Linked DNA regions of Homo sapiens: all the other regions are linked to region 4. Evidence: promoter capture Hi-C in 16 types of primary human blood cells and fetal thymus (Javierre and others, 2016). All regions are on one chromosome and are shown on one strand. The core of a region is centred on a gene start or on the middle of the fragment in contact, and the rest is flanking DNA. Distances in the headings are between cores, read along the strand shown.

The links. The method cuts DNA at HindIII sites, captures the fragments that hold promoters and counts their contacts. A CHiCAGO score of 5 or more calls a contact.
Region 1: a contact is called between a fragment that was not itself captured here and the fragment with the promoter of RPS7 in region 4, in 5 of 17 cell types (fetal thymus, naive CD4 T cells, naive CD8 T cells and 2 more). The highest score is 12.4, in fetal thymus.
Region 2: a fragment that was not itself captured here is called in contact with the fragment with the promoter of RPS7 in region 4 in 2 of 17 cell types (naive CD8 T cells and activated CD4 T cells); the score reaches 6.8 in naive CD8 T cells.
Region 3: a contact is called between a fragment that was not itself captured here and the fragment with the promoter of RPS7 in region 4, in 5 of 17 cell types (fetal thymus, naive CD4 T cells, non-activated CD4 T cells and 2 more). The highest score is 18.9, in fetal thymus.

The regions. Positions count from the first base shown.
Region 1 is chr2:2,642,542-2,645,802 of GRCh38, reverse strand. No RefSeq gene overlaps it. Among named protein-coding and RNA genes, the nearest start is that of MYT1L, 310 kb to the right of the region's middle. The HindIII fragment of the contact is 6,388 bases long and covers 1-3,261 here.
Region 2 is chr2:2,598,530-2,602,036 of GRCh38, reverse strand. No RefSeq gene overlaps it. Among named protein-coding and RNA genes, the nearest start is that of MYT1L, 270 kb to the right of the region's middle. The HindIII fragment of the contact is 5,035 bases long and covers 1-3,507 here.
Region 3 is chr2:2,685,277-2,688,444 of GRCh38, reverse strand. No RefSeq gene overlaps it. Among named protein-coding and RNA genes, the nearest start is that of MYT1L, 360 kb to the right of the region's middle. The HindIII fragment of the contact is 1,672 bases long and covers 710-2,381 here.
Region 4 is chr2:3,573,235-3,576,513 of GRCh38, reverse strand. RPS7 (ribosomal protein S7) reads right to left here and starts at 1,254. Exons shown (of 7, transcript NM_001011.4): 1 at 1,164-1,254; 2 at 830-922; 3 at 626-697; 4 at 1-27. The coding sequence starts at 904. LOC124907726 (a long non-coding RNA gene) reads left to right here and starts at 1,405. Exons shown (of 2, transcript XR_007086196.1): 1 at 1,405-2,379. RefSeq lists a silencer at 708-997 and enhancers at 549-1,125, 1,126-1,701. The HindIII fragment of the contact is 5,628 bases long and covers 1-2,594 here.

The DNA.
Region 1 (3,261 bases), core at 159-2,658, 930 kb after region 4:
ATGAAGGTGAGGCCACCTGACCCTGCGGGGTGCAGAATGAAAGTAAGGCCACCTGACCCTGCGGGGTCCAGAGAGGGCTCCTGCTCACAGTGTGCCCCTGGAAGCCTCCTTGACCCCCGCCCTGGCTGTGTCTCGCGTTGCAGGAGAATGGTGATCAGCAGGGCCCTTCCATGTGGTGGCTCCTCCCGCCGGTCCTCAAAGGGTTCCCCCATCAGCCCACTGGGGAGGAAATTCAGGCTCATAGGGGCCTCTCAGGTTCATGGCTGGAAGTGGGGCTGGGCTCTCGGCTCACATTCCGGTGACCAGAGCTCCACCTTGCAGCCCAAGGGGGCTGGAGATACGAGCCCAGCTGTGTGCCCAGGAAGGAGGGGAGAGCGTGGATGCTGGCGAGCCCCATGGCCTCTGATCAGTGTCCTTTCTCACAAGGTTGTACAAGAGACACTTAGACAATGTGTGGAAGAGTTCTGTCAACTCCACAGCCTGCGCCATGCAGGCGCTGCTACCGTGTTCAGCCCTGGTCCTTTCCATGTCAGGCAGAACGGCCGAGTGCTGTGTGGGAGCCACACAGAGATCTGGGAGCACACAAGGTGCAGGCAGCCGAGGAGGCCAGGTTTTCTGAAGGCAGTGGGTGGAAGGGTGGACAGGGTGGCCAGAGGTGGAGGGGAGGTGGTGGCTAGAACGGCGGACAGGGTGCCCAGAGGTGGAGGGGAGGTGGTGGCTAGAACGGCGGACAGGGTGCCCAGAGGTGGAGGGGAGGTTGTGGCTGGAATGGCGGACAGGGTGCCCAGAGGTGGAGGGGAGGTTGTGGCTGGAACGGCGGACAGGGTGCCCAGAGGTGGAGGGGAGGTGGTGGCTGGAACGGCGGACAGGGTGCCCAGAGGTGGAGGGGAGGTGGTGGTTGGAATGGTGGACAGGGTGCCCAGAGGTGGAGGGGACATGGTGGTTGGAATGGTGGACAGGGTGCTCAGAGGTGGAGGGGAGGTGGTGGCAAGAGCTGCTCTCACAGGATGCAGTCCCAGGGGCTCTGAGCCCAGAGGACAGGGCACAGCCACGTGCTCCTCTCAATCCACACCTGCTCCTGAGCTCAGCTCAGCGATCTCCCACCCCAGGTTCTCCTCCAGTCTGGTCATTGGTGGCTTTTAGCTTGCAGCTCCTGCCTATCTCTGCCCGCTTCTACTTCACCAAGTCTCCGAGAAGAGGCCTGACCAGGCAGGAATCCCTGTGGAAGACTGAGGAGGGGAAGAGCTTGTGTGGCCAGGCCACAGCCTCCAGAGCAGGCGGGGAACTCCGGGACGCTCTGCTGCTGCTGTTGTGGTGGTGGTGTTGTGTTGTGTAGTGTTGTGTTGTTGTGTTATTGTTTTTCTGTTGTGCAGTTGTGTTGTTGTGATTTTGTGTGGTGGTGTGGTTCTGTGATTGTGTTTTGTTCTGTCATTGTGTGGTTGTGTTGTGATGTTGTGATGGTGTGTGATAAGGTTGTGTCATTGTTGTGTGGTTGTGTTGTTGTGTGCTCTGCCACTGGTGGTGGTGGTGGTGTAGTGTGGTTGTGTGGTTGTTCTGCTGTGTGGTTGTGTTGTGATGTGGTGGTATTGTGTGGTGTGGTTGTGTTGTGTGGTTGTGTTGTTGTTGTGTGGTTGTGTCCTCTGTCACTGGTGGGAATGTAATATGGTGGTGGTGTGTGGTTGTTGTTCTGCTGTGTGGTTGTGTTGTGATGTTGTGTTGCGGTGGTGGTGGTGTGTGGTGTGGTTGTGTGGTTGCATGGTTGTTGTGTTGTCGTGTGCTCTCTCACTGGTGGGAATGTAATGTGGTGGCGGTGGTGGTGTGTGCTGTTGTTGTGTTGTGATGTTGTGTTGTTGTGGTGGTGTGTGGTTGTTGTTGTGTTGCTGTGTGCTCTGTCGCTGGCGTTAGTGTAATATTAGGGCAAGAAGTTAAGGATGCCACCTGGACAGGTTCTGCTTCACGGCTTGCTGGGGCCTCAGCCGGGTCGGGGCTGGCAGCAACCCCTGTGCCTAGGCTGGGCCTCCTGCATTCCCTCTGCTGGGACCAGATTCTCTCGAGTTGGCACCAAGTCAGACAAGGGGAGACAGCCCAGGGGCCCACGGGCTGGAGGAGGCCCCAGTCCAGCTGCTGAAACCCTGGTGCTCCAGGACGTCTGGTGGCCAACGTGGGCTGACATTGACCCCGGTGATGTCGTCCAGCCTGGCTTGCTTACTGTGGCCTGAGCTTCCTGGGCATGCGACAGAATGACCTGACATTCCCTGATGTCTATGCCCAAGAAGGGGCTGGATGGACCCCTGGGTCCCTTCCCAGTGACAGAAAGAGGCACCAAACCCCAGAGCACAGCCAGCCTCTAGCATGGGGCACAGAGCATCTGGCGCAGACACAGCGGCTGGTGGGCATCCGGGGCTGGCAAGTCAGGACTCAGCCTCTTACGGCCAAAGTGCCTCCTCCGCCAGAAGCCAAGCTGTTCAGTGTAAGGAAATGTGACAGCAGAGATCCCCAGTGTCGTGCCAGTCCCACGCCTGCTCAGCACCATGGCAATCAAATTTCACACCACGTGGCTCAGTCTTGCCCTGCTTGTGAGCCCACTGCGATCAAGGTGCAGCTGCGTGGGAGCCCATTTCTCAGCGCTGAGGGGTTAAGGTTTGGCCTCTGTGTGCCGCCTGTTCCCTGCATCCTGGGCTGCCCTCGTTCCCCCAGGACGGCGAGTCCTGTGTCGGCCTGGTGGCCTCTCAGGTCTGTCTCTGGCTGTCCATCCCCTAGCTGGGGCTTCCCAAGCCCATGGGGCTGCCACCTCTGGCTGGGTCTGGCTCTCGGAAGCTCCGGCTACTCAGAAAACTGTGCCGCCTTGCACCTCCCCATGATGGCAGGCAGACCCTGGGAAGATGATAAGTTGGTATCAGACGGTGTTCAAATGCATTCAACAGCATCCTGTCACTTTATTTCATGGTATTCTAAAAATGTGTACTATGTTTTATATACTTCCTGATACAGTTTACAAATTTGAGCAAAAGAAAAAGTGCTACAAAAAATGTTTAATTCCCTAGGCTCACATAAAACAATCTGCATGCAAGGTTGTCTTAAGAGGTAACATTCTTCTGACTCTTACTACTGGCTGGGCTTAAATAGCCTATAAATTAAAATGCCGAAATGAGGATAAATAAAACATAATAAGTAGTAAGATTTACTCTCTGTAACCATATAGAAAATATTTTAATTTAGAATTGTCTTTAAACCATGCTTCTAAGGCATTACATCAGAAAT
Region 2 (3,507 bases), core at 778-3,277, 980 kb after region 4:
AAAGATGAGTTTCCTGTGCACGTGTGTATGCTTAAAGGCTTACTAAAGTGGCGTACTGTGCTCAATGAAATTGCTTTACCTGGTCATCACCTCACAAGCCCCGCAGAGCACGTGGTGCTGGGCGCACCTTCCTCAGATGAGTACTTGTTTAGGTGAAATTGTGTTGAGACGGCCGTATCTTATTTCCAACATGGCCCTTTTAACCACATGTAACGCTCCCTTTTCTCCCTTGAGGAAACCTTAACAAGTTTCTCCCCATCACGGAGAGCAATTAGGTGTCTTCAGTCGGCTGTGCCCTGAGTGCACCTGCGACTCACAGTGATCTTGTCCTCATGCAGATCCCCCGAGCCAAGTACCGAGAAAGCCCAATTAGGCATTCCCTGACAAGAAACAGATTGAGAAAGACTACCGTGTCGCTGCTTGGAAAGGGAAGAGAAGAGAGGAGCGTGTTGATTTAGGGAAGTTAGGTCAGTGTCATGAATGCAGTGTTTCTCCACGCAGGGCCTTCAGACCAGTGGCCACATTTGGCCTCACCTGGAAAGGAGTTAGAAACGTAAATTATCAGGCCCCACCCCATACCTGAATCAGAAGCTCTTGGGGTGCGGCTCAGCATTCCCCAGGCCCTCCAGGTGATTACGGTACATGTTCAAGCTGAGAAATCACAGGTCTCGTGCAAAGGGCTCCTGGCGTCCGGCGGAATCTCAGCTCTGCCTCTTGTTGCCTATGTGCGCCCCCAGATTACTCCACTTCGTCAAGTCTGACTTTCTTTCTATGTAAATGGAGACAATTAAGCCTACCTTGGCAGGGTGCTATTAAATATGTTATATATTATGTTAAATACGTTTCATAGGAAATTATGTCTTGTATGTGAAGTAGGATGTCAAATGGTAATTTTCCTGCCTCGATGTCAATGGAAGCATCCATCTGGCAGCTATCAGACATCCAGGAGAGGGGGAAACCCTCTAAGCAGACTCAACAAAGGAAATCACTCAGAATAACTCCTCCACTCCCGAACTTCCTCACCCACTCTGAATACACAATTGCTGGGCTGGGGGGAAAGGAAAAGGTGTGAAGAAATGTTTTAGCATTATTTTGTGTCTCCAGTCCTGGTGAGAGGGAACTTCAAAGTCTATGTCCCCTGCAGCTGACAAGAGAGTCTCCTGGTGTCTGCCTCTGCTGGAGGACGCCATTCAGCCTCTTGCTGCTGTGTTGAGAGGGGTCTGCACACTCCTGGAGTTTATTGAAGTAAGGATTGGATAAGAGTTTAACATGCTGTGTGGGGAAGAGAGACCTGAGAGCAGGTTGCCGACAGATCTCTCCAGAAGTTCTGCCAAGGGGGGCAGAGGGACCCAGCGCCAAGAAGTTGGTGGAGGACACACACTCACTGGGAACCGTGGGAGGAGTCATACAGCCTCCCACAAGAGAGATTCATCTACCGGGTCAGAGGCACGGCAGGAGAGAAGCCACAGCAAAGCTAATTTTCAAAAAACACTCAGAAGTGTCCGTGAGAGAAAGAATCTGTTTCAAAAATCTGCCACAGAGAGTGGAAGGCCAGCTTATAACAGCATGAGCGTAACAAGAATGCTTCTGTCCTTCATCTTGCTTCTCCGGGCTCCAACATGGGAGAGGGCCCAGCAAACTAAAAGCTGGGTGTAGGAGGAGGGAGAAGGGCTGGAAGAGAAACAGGGAAGCTAAATGCAGGCTTCTTTTCCACTCCAGGCCAAGCCACAGCAGCACAGGAGACTGTGCTGTGAAATCAGATTCACAGCTTTGATTCATATTTGCTCTCAACGATCTAACTTTTGAATTGAGACTCTGTGATTTAAGTTACCCTAACATTGTCTAGTACCTAAAAATGAATAAAATAGACAAAGAGAGGTTTTTTTTGGGAAAAATATTTTCACTGAAAAACTCTTAAAGGACCAAATGCTAACCATTGAGCTGCGTTCTAGTTGATTATGACATGAGTTATGCTTGCTCAGTACACACAAGGGCATACCCACATACATACATTAGATGCTAGTGCCTCAGTGATATTATCTGTTAACTTTCATTAGAAAGAAGAGCACTGGACTCCTTTTAGAATCAGTAAGATTTTATTATCAGATTTTACTGGTCTAAGTTTAAAGACAGGTTTAACACAACACAATATTTTAAAAAACACTAAGATGAAGCAACACAAATTTCTGGCAGCAGTGGTGTTTTCATAGATTCACAGAACGAGAGGGCTCTGAAGTGGCTGAGAGATCTGCAGGTGATGCCATGATTAGCTCAGAGATGCTCAAGGCTGGAAAAGGCCTAATGGCCAGGGCCTTTACACAACTTCTGTGTTCCATGTTCCGTGTTCCTCCTTCCACAGCTTCTGGGGGCACCATCACGGGGCTGACTTCGGGGGTGGTCCCCCTGCCTTTTGAGTGCACAGTCAGTGTGGCCATGGACAGTGTCCCTGTAAATGTCTCTCAAAGCCCAGACCCGCTGAATTTAAATCCCTTCGAAATGGTAATGCAATATGTTTGAACGCTCCTTGTAACAGAGAACCCTCTGCTTCTCATGGAGATCATCCTGCTTATGATTAGGATCACGAAGACATTTTCACTTACACAATTGGAAAATTGGAGTTTCTTGCTGCTTATCTTAGCTGCAATCTACAAGGCCACACGGAGCAAATCTGTCCTCTTTTTATGGCAGTCTTTCAGTAATTTGGGGAAAGCTACTGAGATCTTCTTGAGTCTAGTTTCTTCAACACTTTCCCATCTGAATGATTTCTTCCATCCTTCCCACTCTGATCTAAACACGTGCTGGTGTATATTAGAACTAGAAGACCATTCTTAGAGTAAAGTCAATGCTCCAAAAAACCCAATTGCCGCTGCTTTGCTTTAGATAAACCAAAAAAAATTAAGATCCAGTGAGGATGTCGACATGTCTAAAACCATGCACTTTGTTAGCTGCAGTAAGATGTCCATCTCCAGGGTTTTCCCACTGTGCCATCCTTCCTCCAAGGTGCAAGACTATGGCTTCAACATCTCTGCTATTTTTGTTGACAGGGAATGCCTTTTCCCAGTGTGTATATTTCTGCTTCTTGCTGTGTTTGGGGTGGTTGCTGCTGAGGTTGTTACTGAGTCCAAACAGACCACAGCATGAGCCAAGCATCCAAGGGCCAACTTTCCCTAGAAAGACTCACAACGGAGTGCAGGTAACACTGACTGTCAAGGCAGTTGGTGTGGACTGATGGGTGAAGGGGCATTCCCTCTACATGGAACAATCACGTGCGTCTAAGGCAGCTCAAGCTCAACGCGCTGAATTTAGTAACTCGGTGAAAGCAGTGAGCATCACTCAAAGCTATAGAGTACTAAGGAGTTTTGAAATGCATCATTCCATTTAAGTATTTTAATTACACCATAAATCAATGTATAAGGATGGGTTGAGAGATAGCTGTTGATTTGTTGAGTATTTACAAATTGCCTACTGTGTGCTGGTACCACCAGGCAAATTCACATTTAGTCCTTA
Region 3 (3,168 bases), core at 296-2,795, 890 kb after region 4:
AGGTGAGAGGAGCTGCCAGGAGGTTTCCTGTCACCTGTCAGTCATCCACGGCTGGTAACAAATGACCACAATGCAGTGGCATAAACAGTATTTATGATCTTGTAGTTCCTGTGGGGCAGGAGTCAGAGCTCAGGTTAGCAGGGGCTTTGGTTCTGGTCTCACAAGGCTGCAATTAAGACGCTGACCAGGGTGCATTCCCCTCTAGAAGCTCGACTGTGAAAGAATCCACCTCCATGCTCACATAGGTGGTTGCAGAATCCATCTCCTAGTGTTTGCAGGATCACTGGCCCCAGGTCCTTGCTGTCCATCATTTGGAGGACACCCTCAGTTCCTCGAGGTCATTCTCAGCTCCTAGAGGTCATCCGCAGTTCCTTGCTGGCAGGTCTTTCTTGCTTCATCAAGCCAGCAAGGAGAACCTCCAGTGTGAGTCTCCTGGAGAGGCGGCATCCAGGGTAGTGCAGTGTGATCACAGGCATGGTGTCCCTAACCCCTGCAACTGGCACATTCTGCTGAGTAGAAACCAGCCGCAGGTCCCATCCACCCTCACAGGGGAGGAGAGGCTGCCAGGGTGACAGTGCCAGGAGGGGACTGCCAGGACCCCCTTAAAGCCTGGGCTCCAATCCTGACAAACGTCCATCCTCAGGACATGCAATTCTAACTCTCATAGTTAGGTTTTCAGTTGCAATAATATATTTTAAAATATCAAGCTTCTTTTGAGTTTTACTCCTAAAAAATCTGAATAACCTCTTTTAATCTAAACAATTTTTCCTGCTAATTGTTAGTTTTATTCTACTAAAATTTGTCCAGTAGCATGTTTTCATGCACCATGTAAAGACAATTTTTTGAAGAGGACTCTCTCTCCCATAAGCTCCTGATCAGCTGGGGGTGACAGGACATCAAGGAGCTGTTTGTTCCCCCAGGATCCTGCCTCTGTCTCCAAGGCTGGGAGGTAGGTGGGGCCTCTCGAAGGCCTGCTGAGGAGGGAGGCGGGCCTGTGGGCTTGAGTGGTTGGCAGAGTGCGGGGGGTGGGGGGCCTGAGACGGATACATCAAACTGTGGGTCATTTATCTGTACTAATTATGTCATCAGAAATGCAGGTGAAAAAGGATGCATGAAGATAGTTTATTTTTATTTTTTAGTTTAAGTTCCAGGATACATGTGCAGAGCGTGCAGGTTTGTTACATAGGTTAACGTGTGCATTGTGGTTTGCTACACCCACTGACCTGTCCTCGAAGTTCCCTCACCTCGCCCTCCATCCCCCAGCAGGCCCTGGTGTGTGTTTATAAGGATGATTTCCTTCTCCCTAGCAAGACTTCCATGTGACAGGTGGAGGCCTCTTCCCACGGCCAGGCCCCTGCTTGCAGCTCTTCTCACTCCTGGCTCCTGCCTTCTCCAGGGCCCACGCTGGCTCCTGCATCCTCCACCTCAGTCACCCTGGGCCCCTTCCTGCAGGCACATCATGTGCTTATGTCTCTCCCACTTAAACAGCACATTAAAAAGTAAGAACAGGGCCACATGCGGTGGCTCAAGCCTGTAATCCCAGCACTTTGGGAGGCTGAGGCGGGCGGATACCCTGAGCTCAGGAGTTCAAGACCAGCCTGGGCAACATGACGAAACCCGTCTCTTCCAAAAAAAATACAAAAAAAAAAAAAGAAAAAGTAAAGTAAGAACATTTCTTGGTTCCCTTGCCCGCTCCAAGTGCTGCTTATTTCTTCTCTTCACATCCTTCCTTCCTGAAAGAATCATCTATCTTCTTCCTCTTCATCTGCTATCTCCCCTCAGATGGAGTCCCTGCCGTCCTCTCTGCCTTCCTCTTCTGTTCTTCCTTCATCCCACGTTTCCCTGAGCTCAGCGATGTCCTCTTTGATGGTAAAGGAAGCAGATACAACCCAGCCTTGGTTTTGCTTGGTCCGTCTCTGCACTGGACATAGGAGAGCTTGACCTGCCCTTTTCCTAGACCTCCCAGCTGCTCCTCTGCATCCCGTCCCTCCTGGCTGCTGCGGCTGTTTCCTTTGCAGGCTTTGGCTCCTCACGTGACCACTTCCTGTGCTCTCTCTGCATACATCTGCCACAGTTTTTATAAGTGTTCTTGTGTGATTAGACAATTCTGTTATAATATATAATTTTGCTAATGTAAAACATCAAATCTTCGTGTCTCGATGATCTCATCAGAATGAGCCTGCCTGGGTTCTCTGTGCTTTCCAGCCTCTGCTCCTCGCCCCTTTCCCTCTTCTCCGAATCCCCTTTCTAGACAACCTTCCCTAATCCCCCCAGTAGAGAATGATCCTTTCTTCTCTGAATTTTCTTCACCTTTCTATCAGACTTTCTTATGTCTTTTGTCACTTTTAACCTTGTTTTACATATTTTCATCTGTATAAGCTTCTCAGAGGCAGTGGGAGATGTATTCATCTTTGTGGCCCTATGTAAAATCTAACAAGTCATTTAAAGGGAAAGAATGTCTGCCCCACACTCTACCCCTAGAGACAGCACCTGCCCACACCTTACCCTCTATTTCCTTATGTGCAAAATGGAAATAGAACACCCATTTTTAGGTCTAATGTAATGAGGAGATAGCACACACATAGAATTACTAACATAATGTCTGGTACATTTAAGAATTCAATAGACACAGCAACTGCTATTATTATCATTAGGAACAGGAGGTAAGAATATTTGTTAAATGAATAAATGAATAATTGTATCAAGAAATTCCTTAAGATAGGAAGGAAACAAAGCGAAGTAGGTGAACAAACAAATCAAAAAGCAGCCAGCCACCCGGCCAATCCATTTAACTTCCTTCTGTTCTATGACATAAGCCACACAATAGCAACTCTTAAACATGTCTGTGTATTGGAAGTAACAGTGTCTTATATTAACTCATTAGGGATCCCTGCTGCTGTGGTTTGAACAGTCCCTCCAAAACTCAAGTTAAAATTTAATTGCCCTTGTGATGTATTAGAGGTGGGACTATCAAGAGGTGATTAGGCCTCATGAGGGGATCAATGTCTACATGGCAGGAGTGTGATCCTGAAAAAAGTGAGGTCAGCCCCCTCTTACCCACCCTTATTCTCTGAGTGCTCTTTTGCCCTTCTGCCTTCCACCCTGGGATGACGCAACAGCAAGACCCTCACTAGATGCTGGCACCGTGTCCTTGAACTTTCCAGCCTC
Region 4 (3,279 bases), core at 5-2,504:
TTTCCGACCACCACCAACTTCAATTTCCTAAAGAAAAAAACAAAAATCCACTGTGTTAACTGCTTCAGAAAGTAAACGTTGTGGTCAAATTAGAGGATAAGAAGACCTTATCACTAACACCGTAGCTGCACTACAAACTAATACTAGTTTTGAGTTAATCATAAATGCATCCTTCGGAAATGTTCTCATCTCTCTCCAACCTTCACATTTCCTTATTCCAGGAAGGGAGACTGTTCAGGCCAGGAGGCCAATCACTACCACTTCTGCACCCCCACTTGCGGCAACTCCGGGCTAAGGGTAGAGAGAATCTCATCCTGAGCTCCCCACAGCTCTTTGCCGTATCTATAACTAAGTAAGGGCAAATAAGGTCCGAAATGGGCCCAGGCCCTCCCTACTCCACGTTTCTCCACCGCCCGCATGTGGACAGCTTAAGCCGCAGGGTACCTGCAACCCCACTCCCCGCACCTGGGCGGTATCACTCCCAAACAACACGGCCGAACCTGAGTTCAGGTTAGGCGGCCAGGCGGCAAGTCATCATCAACCGTAACCCAGGTCCAACCCTCTCAGGCACTGCGCGGGGAGACGCGCCGCAACCTCCCTCCCAGCCGAGGGAGCGCCAGCTTACCTTAGCTGCCGTAATATTCAGCTCCCTGAGCTGAGCCTTGAGGTCCGAGTTCATCTCCAGCTCCAGAAGAGCCTAAGAAGCAACGAACAGCAGGACCGACCCTGAGCGCGCGTCCGAGCACCCCGGGCCCAACACACGCGCGGCCGCCTCCCCTCCCGGGCGGGGCGCCTCCCCCCACCCCAGACCCCAGGGAAACCCTCTCACCTGGGAGATGCCGGACTCGAACTCGTCCGGCTTCTCGCCATTGGGCTTCACGATCTTGGCGCTCGAACTGAACATGGCTTTCTCCTGGGAGAACTGAAGGCACAGCGGTCAGCGTTACGCGGCCCGGGCTGCAGGCGCCGCTGGCTCGCCCTCCCGCCCGCACCCCCCGGCCAGGCCCCGCTCGCCCCGCAGAAGCCATCGGAAAGCACAGGGCGGGTAATCGGCTGTATCCCCACCCTGTGAGCAAGGCTCGCCCCTCCAGGGCCTGACTCCAAAAGGCGTTTTCCTCAACCCAAGAAGAAAAGTTCTGTCGGAGAGCAGGCCGCCAACCTACCTTGCCGAGCGCCGGCTTAGGAAGAGACCCAAATCTCGCGAGAGCACGTCAAAATCCGGCGTCCGAAGGCAAGAGGCGGAAACAGCGCGAGGAGGAGGGCGGAAACCGGAACATCACTGAGAAGCGGTAGGAGGCTAGAGAGTCCCAGGAAGCGGCTCTGGGGACGAGTGTCTTGGTAACGCTTTTCCGCCCTAGGATTCGTACTTTGGTGCCGTTTCCGAGCGTTCCGGTACCGGCTCCCAAGGTTCCCGTCTTCAGTGCAGGTTGCAGGCGGGAACCGGCCTCGTCCCAGCCCTGGGCCTGGGAGAGAGAAGGAGGCCGAAGAAAACCAACTTCGGCAACCTCCGGAGACAGGACGTTTAAAAAAGGCTAACTTGGCTGGGCGCTGAGGCTCACGCCTGTAATCCCAGCACTTTGGGAGGCCGAGGCAGGAGGATCACTTGAGCTCAGGAACCAGCCTGGGCAACATGGCGAGACCCCATGTCTACAAAAAAAAAAAAAAAAAAATTAGCCAGTCATGGTGGTGCGCGCCTGCAGTCCCAGCTACCCCGGAGGCCGACGCGGGAGGATCGCTGGAGCCGAAAGGTCGAGGCTGCCGTGAGCCGAGGTTGCACCACTGCACTCCAGCCTGGGCGACAGCGCAAGACCCTGTCTAAAAATAAATTTAAAAAAAATTGCGAGGCCTTCATTCTATGCTAGTACTGTACTAGGTGCTAATTATTAAGTAAAACCGACTGAACTCTTGCCCTCATGGAGCTTACAGTTCAGTGGAGAAGACATTACCTAAAGCAGTATGACTAAATATATAATGACATATTGTAATAACTTACATAACAGTACAATGAGAGGGTGGGGAGGGATTATTTATGCTTTAAGAAGTCGGGAATCCTGGAACGGAATGACATTAGACTGAGACACGGAAGAGCCGCAGGATCTATTGCTGGGGAAGAGCATTCCAGACAGGGAGGAACTCGTGCCGAATGATCCCGCTGTGGACAGGGAATTTAATCTGAGCTTCGGTTTCCTCTTCTGTCAAATGTCATGCAAGAGTTACTTTCAGCCGTGGTCCAGGCACTGTGAAAAATGCAGAAGCCACACTAGGTGCCCTCTCTCAGGATTCCCAACCACCTTTACCAAGCAGAGATGGTATTCATCCCACATTTTTAATGCTAGATATGCTCCCGCCCGGTGCTTCTCTAATAATGTTTTTTAAAAGGTAAGTGACTGTCTCCTTGGAAAATTAAGGATAACTTGAAGTTTCTTCCAGATAGAAAGTAAACTACAGCTGCGTCTACAATCTCATCTGGGCAGTCGTTCTGAGCCCTTTTGTCGAACTAGGTCCATTTCCTTACTCCACATGCACTTTTCGACCTGGCTTTTATCTCTGCTGCTCTATAAAAGTAGTAATCTAAAAGTTCATCCAGTAAAGCTTTTTCTCTGTGAACCTATCACTTGAGAACAAAAAAAATTAAAGTTATTTCTGGTTTCCAGTCCTTTGTTGAATAGGAGTGGTGAGCAAGGACATCCGTGCCTTGTTCTCCATCTTAGGGGAAAACCATTCAGTCTTTCACCATTAAGTATAATATTAGCTCTAGGATTTTGCAGGTATTTTTAATCAAATTCAGGAAGTTCCCTCTGTTTCTATTTCTGAGAGGTTTTTTTAAAATCATGGGCCGGGCACGGTGGCTCACGCCTGTAATCCCAGCACTTTGGGAGGCCGAGGCGGGTGGATCACGAGGTCAGGAGATCGAGACCATCCTGGCTAACACGGTGAAACCCCGTCTCTACTAAAAATACAAAAAATTAGCTGGGCGAGGTGGCGGGCGCCTGTAGTCCCAGCTACTCGGGAGGCTGAGGCAGGAGAATGGCGTGAACCGCCGGGGGCGGAGCCTGCAGTGAGCCGAGATCGAGCCATTGCACTCCAGCCTGGGTGACAGCGAGACTCCATCTCAAAAAAAATATATAAATAAAAAATAAAATAAAATCATGAATGGATGTTGGAGTATGTCAAATGCATTGTTTCTATGAACTAATATGATTATGTGAGTTTTTCTTTTTAGCTGTTAATGTGCTGTTAATATACATAAATGCTTTTCCTTTCTAACTCTTTAGCTTT